Linked DNA regions of Homo sapiens: region 2 is linked to region 1. Evidence: promoter capture Hi-C in human tissues and cell types (Jung and others, 2019). All regions are on one chromosome and are shown on one strand. Each heading gives the region's core, a stretch centred on a gene start or on the middle of the fragment in contact. The rest is flanking DNA. Distances are from core to core; before and after follow the strand shown. Region 1 holds the start of MECR (mitochondrial trans-2-enoyl-CoA reductase). Region 2 overlaps LOC107984933 (a long non-coding RNA gene).

What was found. Contacts are between HindIII fragments. The study calls those that stand out against the background at their distance.
Region 2: a contact is called between a fragment that was not itself captured here and the fragment with the promoter of MECR in region 1, in 1 of the 25 tissues and cell types used here (bladder).

What each region holds. Positions count from the first base shown.
Region 1 is chr1:29,228,374-29,233,955 of GRCh38, forward strand. MECR (mitochondrial trans-2-enoyl-CoA reductase) reads right to left here and starts at 2,561. Exons shown (of 10, transcript NM_016011.5): 1 at 2,358-2,561. The coding sequence starts at 2,533. RefSeq lists enhancers at 1,937-2,437, 2,438-2,938, 2,463-2,572. The HindIII fragment of the contact is 4,782 bases long and covers 1-3,328 here.
Region 2 is chr1:29,510,270-29,515,851 of GRCh38, forward strand. All of the region lies in intron 1 of LOC107984933 (a long non-coding RNA gene), which reads left to right. Among named protein-coding and RNA genes, the nearest start is that of LINC01756, 160 kb to the left of the region's middle. The HindIII fragment of the contact is 3,052 bases long and covers 1,786-4,837 here.

The DNA of each region.
Region 1 (5,582 bases), core at 1,311-3,810:
AGGAAGTCTTGCTCTGTTACCCAGGCTAAAGTTCAATGGCGCGATCTCGGCTCACTGCAACCTCTGCCTCCCAGTTCAGGCAATTCTCCTGCCTCAGCCTCCCGAGTAGCTGGAACTACAGGCTTGCACCCCCATGCCCAGCTAATTTTTGTATTTTTAGTAGAGACAGGGTTTCGCCATGATCTGCCCATGTTAGCCTCCCAAAGTGCAGGGATTACAGGCATGAGCCATCGCGCCCGGTTGGAAGTATCATGTTTTGAACTAGAGGGAAATTACTGAAGTTCCACAGAAGGACATAATAGAAGCTTTTTTTTTTCCTAAGTGGCATCTGCAAACAGACCGGTCTGTTCCAGCTTCTCTGGCTCTCCAAGAGGAGGGAATCAATTAGGAGGCAACTGCATTCAGCTGAACTTTCCCAGGCCTTCCTCATCACCACAGCAGAACTTAATAAAAGGTTCACTTTTTTTGGAAATTTAGATTTAGATTGAACTAACATTTTAGGAGCACCTGTTTTGTGGCAGGTCCTGCTGCAGACACAAACTACAAGTCCGTGGGAGAGACACTACATGGTTCTCATTTGGGGTACATTCCTGGAAATGGAGGAGTGTTCATCAGAGCTGTACCAGTTCCTTACAACGCAGTCCTTAGTGAGATGTCTTCCCTGACACAATGCTTTATTACCTACGATCAACATACAATTTGGAGTTTACTGACTGATGTGTCTTCTTGACATTCTTTTCGTTTCTATAATGCGGGATGTGGCTAGGCTGATTGGATGACCTTGAATTTATCTGAGGCTTATCCTCACCACCTGTCAAAACATCTAGCTTGATTTTTTTTTTTTTTTGAGACAGAGTCTCGCTCTGTTGCCCAGGCTGGAGTGCAGTGGCGCAATCTCGACTCACTGCAACCTCCGCCTCCTGGGTTCAAGCGGTTCTCCTGCCTCAGCCTCCTGAGTAGCAGGGATTACAGGTGCCCACCACCAAGCCCGGCTAATTTTTTTGTATTTTTAGTAGAGATGGGGTTTCGCCACGTTGGCCAGGCTGGTCTAGAACTCGTGACCTCAGGTGATCCACCCGCCTCAGTCTCCCTAATGCTGGGATTACAGGCGTGAGCCACCGTGCCCAGCTCTAGCCTGAATTTTAACCATTAAAGTAATACCACATTTGCCCATCCTTTGGAAAATAATCAAACTATTTGCTGGGAATCAAAGAGTTAAAAAGAAGGTACTGCACAAGAGTATGCAGGTGTTTTTTGGTGGAGAGCACTACATAGATCTTAGGTGATTACCACTATGAACTTTGTCTGTACTGTCTCCATTTTTTAAGATGATGAAACCGAGGCTCAGAGAACCTCAGTAACTTGCCAAATGCAAAGCTAGGACAAGGATTTGACCCCAAGTATTTTGATTCCCAGACCTGTGCTTTTGCTTTAGCTCCACTTCAGTGGCCCCAATAGCCCTTCTGAATGGCTATTTATGTGCAGATTTACAATGGTTGGCAACTGACATACTATTTTTATCAACCACGTGCAAAAAGCATGAATTAAGATCCAACAGAATTTTAGGAGGAGGACAAAGTCATAAAAGTAACGAGAAGTTGAATGACTTCTCTAAGACCAAACAGCTACTAAGACGTTGAGCCTGTATTTGACCAAATATAGATACTTGGGTCTGTATGGCACCAAAGCAGCTCTTTTTAACCAAGCCAAGATGCATATACGGTGCAGTGGAGAGAAACATGAGTTTGGAATCAGAAGCCATGGATTCCAGTCTCCTGTTCCAATCACTTATTAGCGGTATCACTCTGGGCAAGTCCCTTGCCCTCTGGAAACAATGATCTATGACCTACTCTTTACTGACACATGAAGATCCAAATGGATGTAAAAGTATTCTGAAAACTTCTTCCAAATAATAATAATAATAGTAAGAACTCACGCAGGTCAGTCAGACATAGGTTGGAATTCTGACCCTGTCACTTACTGGCTGTGTGACCTTGGACGAGTGATTTTACCTCTTCTGCCTCAGTTTTCATCTGCAAAATGGGGATAAATCAATAACTACCCCAAAACATTGTTGTGACAATTAAATGAGAGCATCCATTTAAACAAGGGATTGCCTGACACAATATTCGATCAATAAACATCAGCCATTAATACCCTGATAATTGCCTCTCGGGTCTTCAGCTACCTTCAAGTACGGTCTTTCTGACCTACCAAAAACGCCCTGGGCTTCGGCTTCGGTTTGCTATTCTCTGCCCCCTTCCTCGGACCCTGTCCCTCTCTTCCCAGTCCGCAGCTCGTGTTAAAGCCTTCCAGAAACCCCAGTCCCCTTCCCCGGCTTCGGCGCCGTCTCTTACTCGACGACCTTGGCTGGATCCCCGTGGTGCCCATAGACAAGCGCCCGGACCCGGGCAGGCTCGGCGGATGCGGAGTAGGAGGAGGCGGCAGGTCCGTGACAGCCAGAAGCTGGGAGCAGCCCCCGCCACTGCCGGGCGGGGGTTCGCACCCGCCACAGGGTACTGCAGACCCACATGCTCGCTCCAACCAACACAGAGCCTGACGCCCCGGCTACGTCATCTTCCAGCGACCGCGCGCCTGCGCCCCGCCCCTGCCCCGCCGGGTGACCACTCCCCCTTGGTCCCTTTGAAGGGCGTTTCCTTCCTTCGCTGCCCAAGTGGTGGCGCCTGGCTAGACTGCGTGTGGGCCCCGGAGGGATCCGGGGGTGCGGAGCTTGCGAGGCCGCCAAAGCTGTTGTCTCAACAAGGAGAGTCTGGGGCTAGTCCAAAGTCGTGTCTACAGCCTGCAGTTTGGTGTTTGATTTGGAGGAAATATTTACTCTCCCTGGCCTCAGTTTACCCTTCACATAATATATTGAGTGCTCACCGAGCCAGGCTCTTTAAGGTATTATCTCATTTAATCACCACTACCATGTAACGGCATAGGGAGGCAAAGCTTACTTCCCTACACTGAGGAGAGTACACGAAAGCTGCTGTGGAGGCAGGAGTATGGGGCTTGGAGTTAGAAAACTTAGGTTCAAATCCTAGCCCTGCCACTTCCTAGCTTGGCCACCTTGGGCAGGTGAAACTCTGAATTTTTCTCATCGGTACAATGGGGATAATATGCCTCCTTCCGGATTGTTGTGAGGATTGGATGAAATAATAGAGGAATGCTATTGTGGGTGGGAGAACGCATTGTAAAAAACTCTGTTCAGATGTAAGACAGGAATCACAAGGAGAAGGGTCCTCTCTCAAAATGCTCACAGTGTAGAAAGGGATTAAGTGGAACACTGGAAATGCCTGTAAAAAGGTGTAGCCCTATGAAGGATCTAGTCTGATTTTTGGTGTAGGGAAGACATGAACATTACTAAAACCCCAGATCGAGCTGTGGCTCGTGCCAGAGTGCAATGCTGTAGTCTGAAGAGAAGTGCTCTGGGATGGGGTGGGATGGGGTGGGGGCTCTTGGAGGAGGTGCTGTTAGAGCCAGCCCTGTGATTCAAAATCTTCTGTGTGCATAAAAATAATCCGAGGTCCCATCTTAGACCTACTGAATTAGAATCTTGCGGATGGGGGTTCCAGGAATCTACATCCTTACAAGCTCCCAAGAATATTCTGATGCAGGTGTCCCAGGAAACAGGTTTTAAGATACTGAGCCAGGGCTTTGAAGGATAAGGAAGAGTTCCTTTCCTGGATTTTATTGACTTGAAGCTTGCCATCTCCAAGCCTTTCCTCTGAGGAAGAGAGCACAGCAAAGTACTGTGAGCTAGATTTGGACAAACCTGGCTTTATGTCCTAGCTCTGCCATTTTCCAGCCATTTGATTTCGGACAAGTCACCAGGCCTCTCTGTGTCTTCACTTTCTTACTCTTAAAATGGAAGGAATACTAGTTATCTGTTTCAAGATTGTTGTGAGGGTCAAGTGAGATATTATCCACTTGAAGCATTTAGTACAATGCTTGGCACATGGAAGCATTTGATAAATATTATCGGGGGTTATTGTGATTAAATGAGAAATATCACACATAAAACCCTCAGACTAGGGTCTGGCTTATAGTATGTGCTCACTAAATGTCTGTACTTGTTTTTATTATTAGAGAAAGTTGGTGTCCCATGGTGGGGGAAAGGCTTGGCCCCACATTTATGTGCCAGCACACACACGATGACCAGTCCTGCTTACCCTTTTCCCCAGTGACACATAGGCTTACTTGAACTGGGAAGTACAACGTAACCTTCTGTTGTAAGACTCCCTAGGTGACATTGAGATGTCGACATTCTCTTCTTCACCAAATTGGCTCCTCTGAATTTCTGGGGAGCCCAGTCAGGAAGCCTGAAGAATCATCCAGCAAGTCCTCCTCCTTGGGGCTGGACTTTAGCCTCCTGTGCATCCCAATAGCCCTCACTTTTAGTCTAGGCCATCTGGGTTCTTGCAGGGGCATAGTTTGAGAACTACTGACTGAGGGGTTCAAGTCCAATTTCCTGGACTTGCATTCAAGATTCTTTGCACTCTGACTCCCACACTGCATTTCCAGCTTCATCTTCTCCTGTTGGACCGTGCATAGCCTGTGATCCAGCTGCATCTGATACCCGTCTTCCCCAGTGTGTCTTGTGCCTTTATTCAGGCCACTCCTTCTGCCTGAAATGCTGTTCCCTGCCTCGGAAACTCCAGGTTCAGATGTCATTTCTTTGATGTTTCAAAACTCCCTAGGTCATCTGCTGCTGCCTTTGTGTTTTCCCTGGAGCTGTGTTATGGCCTTTAGTACATCGTCTCTTATTTATTCCCCTCCAGGCAAGACTGGAGCCATGTTTGGTTTATCTCCATAACACCAGCACCCGATATGAGCCTGGCACAGGGTAGGTGTCATAAATATTCCATGAGTTGCAGGTAATTGAATTTCCTCATGGCCTAGAACGGTCTGTGGTGCCATCTCCTTTTCCCTAGATTTGGGCTGGTCACTCCAGGCCAGGAATTTCCTTCTTCCTTCTTCTCTCAAGGATTATAGAAGTCTGTGGTCTTTTTTTTTTTTTTTTTTTTTTTTTGAGACAGAGTTTTGCTCGTTGCCCAGGCTGGAGTGCAATGGCGCGATCTTGGCTCACTGCAACCTCCGCCTCCCAGGTTCAAGCAATTCTCCTGCCTCAGCCTCCTGAGTAGCTGGGATTACAGGTGCCCGCAACTACGTCTGGCTAATTTTTGTATTTTTTTTTTTTTTAGTAGAGACAGGGTTTCACCATGTTAGTCAGGCTGGTCTCAAACTCCTGACCTCGCCTCTGCCTCCCAAAATGCTGGGATTACAGGTGTGAACCACTGTGCCCGGCTGAAGTTTGTGGTCTTTTAAAAGTAAAGCAGAAAGTCCTCTTCTCATCTGTCTACCTGTTGCTTGTGTTCTCTTTCTCCCTCCATTATAGTCTCTGCCATCTTCCCCTGCACAAAGGGCAAAGGGATGTGGAATCAGTCAGATCTGGGTTCAAATCTAGGGCCCGCCGTCTATTTACTAGCTGTGTCACCTTAGGCAAGTGTCATATGCTCTCTGAACCTCAGTTTCCACACCCGTAAAATGGGATCACTGGTAAAACTCCTATTTTGAGGCTC
Region 2 (5,582 bases), core at 2,062-4,561, 280 kb after region 1:
GATGAAGAAAAACTAAGAGAATTTGTTGCTAGCAGATATACCCTTAAAGAATAGCTAAAGGAAGTTCTGTGAACATAAAGGACATGATAATGGAGGAAAGCTAGGAATTTCAGAAAGAATGAAGACTCTAAGAATGGGTGGGGATAAACAGAGTAGACTATCCTTTTTCTTAGGAGTTTCTTAAATCCTATTTGCTGGTTGAAGCAAAAATTAAAAACCATCTAATGTGGTGTATAATGGATGTAAAGGAAGTAGTTTATGATTATCCTCATAAAGTGTGTAAAGAGATCTGAACAGGAGTAAGGGGCCTATGCTTTGTTCCCAGTGTTAAAACATCAACACCAGTAGAACAGGATGAGTTATGTATATATTTTGTGATATTTAGAGAAAACACTAAGAAAATTATAGAAAGTGATATTCTTGTATTCTCAAAAACACTATAAAAAATCAATACAGAATCCTAAAAAATGTTTAGGTAACCCACAAGAAGATACCAAGAGAGATCCAGAGGAATAAGAAACAAAGAAAACAAATAGAAAACAAAAAATAAAACAGCAGACTTAAGCTCTAACATATCAACAATTAAATGCAAATTGTCTCAATGCATCAATTAAAAGACAGAGATTGGCAGAGTGGATTAAAACAAGCAAAAAAAAACAAAAAAAAACCCACAGCAACAATAACTACAACAGAACCTCATACAATCCAACAACATGCTGCATTCAAGTAATTCACTGCAAATACAACAACATAGGTAGGTTGAAATGGAAAGAATGGAAAGAGATACACCATAAAAATGTTGATAAGAAAAGAAAGAGTGGCTATATTAATATCAGATAAAGCAGACTTCAGAACAAAGAAAATTGCTAGAGAGAAAGAGGAACATTACCTAATGATAAAAGGATTCATTTACCAAGAAGACATAACAATCCTAAGTGTGTATGCATTAAATACTAGCGTCTCAAAATACATGAAGCAAAACTGATAAAGCTGAACAGAGTAACAGACAAATCAAAAAATGTAGCTGGAGATTTCAATATGCTATTCTCAGCAATTGATAAAACTAATAGATCATCAGTAAAGCTTTAGATCGGAACAACACGATCAAGAGCAGTGGTTCCTAACCATTCTGGCACCAGGGACTGGTTTCGTGGAAGACAATTTTTCCACGGACATGGGGTAGTGGGGAGAATAGTTTGGGGATGAAACTGTTTCATCTCAGATCATCAGGTGTTAGTTAGATTTTCATAAGGAGCAGGCAACCTAGATCCGTCGCATGCACAGTTTACAATAGAGTTTGCACTTCTAGGAGAATCTAATGTTGCTGCTGATCTGGCAAGAGGTGGGGCTCAGGCAGTAATTCCTGCCCACCTAATGCTCACCTCCTGCTGTGCAGCCTGGTTCCTAATAGGCCACAGACCGACACCGGTCTGCAGCCCAGGGGTTGGGGATCCCTGATCAAGAGGGTCTAATTGACATATACAGAACACTTTACCCCAAACAGAAGAACACACATCTATTTTCAAGTGCCCACGGAACAGTCACTAAGGTAAGACTATACCCTGTGCCATAAATAACAAAAATGAAAACAACGAAAGTTAACGAATGGGTTCAATAGTCAAATGGAGGAGACAGAGGAAAGAGTCAGTAATCTTGGATACAGAACAATATAAATTACTCAATCTGAACCACAGAAAGAAAATATACTGGGAGAAAAAAAGAACAGAGCACCAGGGACCTATGGGACTATAACTAGAGATCTAACACTTATGTCATCAGAATCCCAGGAAGAGAAAAAAAAGGAGGTGGGGGCTGAAAAAAGACTCAGAGAAATAATGGCTGAAAACTTCCTAAATTTGGCAAAAGACACAAACCTACGGATTCAAGAAGCTGAGTGAACTCCAAACAGGATAATCTCAAAAGATATTCACACCAAGACACATCATAGTCAAAATTTTTAAAATTAAAGACAAAGAAAATATCTTGAAAGCAGTGAGGGAGAAATGACAACCTCTCTGCAGGGGAAAAATATTAGAACAAAAAAGGATTTCTCATCAGAAACCATGGAGGCTAGAGGGAAGTGGCTCAACATTTTTTTCAAGTGCTGAAAGAAAAGAACTGTCAACCCAGAATCCTATATTCAGGGAAAATACCCTTCATAAATGAAGGGGAAATTGACATTTTCAGATGAAGAAAAACTAAGATAATTTGTTGCTAACAGAAACGTACCCTAAAAGAATGGCTAAAACACTCTCTAAATGGAGAAGAAACAGTAAAAGAAGGAATCATAGAACACCAGGAAGAAGAAAGAACACAGTAAGCAAAAGTATGGGTAAATATAATGAACTTTTACTCTCCTCTTAAGTTTTCTAAATTGTATTTGATGGTTGAAAAAAATTATAGCACTTTCTGATGTGGTTCTAAATGTATATAGAAGAAATAGTTAAGAAATTTATATTATTAACGAGGAGGGTAAAGGGAGGCAAGCTTTCTATACTTCCCTCAAACTGGCAAAATGATGACACTAGTAGACTGTGATAAATTATCTATATATTAATGTAATGTAACTGACAGTAACCACTATAGACACTATACAAAGAGATATACTCAAAACCAGTATAGATAAGTCAAAATTGAAGTCTAAAAAAACTATTCACATAACCCACAGGAAGGCAGAAGAAAGAAACAAGGGATATTGGTCTGTAGTTTTCTTTTTGTGTGCTGTCTTTGGCTTTTTTGGTATCAGGGTAGAGGAATGGCTGGTTGAAAGTAACACAAGTTTTTTCAACTGAAAAATGAGGAAATCATAGGCCTCACGTCACAGGAAGGGTTGTGGTTGTGAGGTTTAAGGTAATGCATATAAAACAAATGCATTAATGCCTGGCACTTACAGTATGTAATTCACCTTTAATAAATGATTGCTATAATTTTGTTTAATAACGTAGTGTCACTTCCTAATTCAAGATCGCCCTGGACTGCAGTCTGAATCAACCTATTTTTTTGTAGTATTTAAATTTATAAGTTCCAAAATTGATCTGAAACAGTTTAGTTATACATTGGATGAAATATATTTATAGAAATCAGGATGATGGGGGAAATGAAAGCCTTATGGTTAACTAAATGATATCATCAGGTCTCCATTCTTGGCTCTGGTCTCCACCATGCCAGCCTCACACACAGACAGGCTCTCTCCTCTAGATGGCTCCATGGTTCCACGCTCACACCCTGTGGTCTCTGATTCCACGGACAGGGCCGGAATTCAGCCTGATTGGCTCAGATTGGGTCATGTGCTCATGCCTGAACCAGTCACTGTGGCTGGGGAAGCAAGGCTCTGATTGGCTAGACCTGGGGTTCTGGCTACCCCTCCATCTGGGGTGGGGTGATTTCTGCAGGACCCCTTAGGACCGAGAGGGTTTCTCCAGGGAAATAAGGAGGCTATTATCAGAGGCGAGCCTTCTGGTGGGGTGGGCAGAATCAGCAGATGTTGGTGGTGGCTGGAGTCACAGATGGGCTTTTAGTTTGCTAAAGCTGCCATAACGATGTGTCACAAACCGAGGGGCTTCAAGGACAGAATGTATTGTGTTCCCTCATAGTTCTGGAGGCTAGAAGTCCCCATTTAAGGTGCCAGCAATGTGAGTTCCTTCTGAGGGCTGTGAGGAAGAATACGTTCCATGTCTTCCCCTAGCTTCTCGGGGATGGATGGCTGGCAATCTTCGGCGTCCCTTGGCTTGTAGAAGCGTTACCCAATTGCTGCTCCCATCTTCATATGGCATTCTCTTGGTATGTGTGTCTCTACGTCCAGGTTTCCCCTTTTTACAAGGACACTAGTTATATTGAATTGGGGCCCACCCCAATGACCTCATTTTAAATTGATTGCCTTTCTTTGTAAAGGCCCTATTTCCAAATGAGGCCACATTCTGAGGTGCTAGGGATTAGGCTTTCGACATATAAATATTTGGAGGACACAACCCAAGCCATAACAGGCGTGACAGCTGGTACCCACCCAGATCCTCTTGACTGACCAGGGCACCAATTCTTTCTGGCTGCAGTGAGTATTAACCTCAGCTCAAGAGCGCTGACTGCAGACTCACCTTGCAAAGGCTAAGAGGTTAAACTCTCCCCACACGGTGACCTTCAGCTAATGACACAGGGTTCAAAAAAATCTATCTCACTGCCCAGGGCAGGAGAGCCGTGTGGTGCCACAGATGACGTTCCAGAGCTCCCCGTGGGCTCAGGCTGGGGGTGAACTCGCGTTGAGCCCATGCCCTGGTCTGGCTTCTTGCCTGCCCTCTGCTGCTTCCGTCACTCCCGTTCTCCTGAGGGTATGCCCTCCACAATCCCACACATCCCCACACATCTCCGTCTCAGGCTCTGCTTCTAGGGAGACCGACCTATATGGAATCTTCTGGAACAGCCATCCTCGGGCACCTGCCATCCTGTAGATCACGTTCTCTCTGTGAGGGGCTGATTCAGAAAGGGCTCTGTTGCCAAGCTCCCAGCAAGGCAGGGCTGGCATCGTGGGGTCTTGCAACCCAAGTTCCCGCTGCTCGTTTGTCGCAATTCTTCCCATGTCTGCTCAAGGTCCTCATGAAATCCGTCGTCTCCATATAATTTCCACATATCTCTCTGCTCTAGGTTTGATTAACAGCAAGTTATAAACAAATTTCAGGAAAAAGGAAACCAGCATCTCCCCAGGGCAGCCAGAGTCTATTGGCAGATGGCAAATTGCTTTGCAGCCAATATTTTTGTTTGCTTGATTTTTATACAGATAAAGAACTAAGCTAATTAATATACATTTCTTATCATCTTTAGGTCTTGGGAACCTCTTTGCTCCATAGTGAATTGATTACCAGGTTTCAATAAAGGGTCTGTCTTTGCAATTACAGTTCATTAATAGATTTAAAAGGGAGGGAGGATGGTTAAGTCTCACTAAGAGGATTATTTTGCATTTCTCTTCTTTTAATTACATGGCTTATGTCCTGGTTCAGAGTTCTGTGAAAGATGGGGGGAAAGTCCCAGCACCCCATCTGTTCCAGATGCCAATGCAATTAATAGGGGAGGAGACAGGAGCTTCTCAGGGGCTTCCTGCTAACTGAGGCTGCACCTGCCTCCTCTTCAGAGCTACCTTGTGGCTCGGAAGCTCAGCCACCAGAGCTCAGTTGGCAGCAGGTATGCTGGTGTAGGCAGGGGCTGTTCTGCCCACGGAGATGCAATATCTGGGGATTTGGGTCAGGACAGCCTTGGTCCTCTATTGAGCTCTCAGAATGTAAGCCCCTAACACATAGTAGGTACCCAAGAAGCACCTATTGCTTTTTGGGGAGATGGGGAGAATGATTCTCTTCGCTTGGGGGAGACTGTGAAATGAGGGGATGTGTGCAAAGTGCAGAGTACGGGCCGGGTGCCCTCGCTGTTCAAGACGAAGCTGCATGCTAAACACTTCTCCCTCCTCCTCCTCCTGCTCCTCCTCCCATCCTCCTCCACTTCCTCCCCTCCTCCTCCTTCTCCTCCTCCTCCTCCTCCTTCTTCTTCTTCTTCCTCTTCTTCTTTTTCCTCCTCTTCCTCTTCTTTCTTCCTTTTTTTTT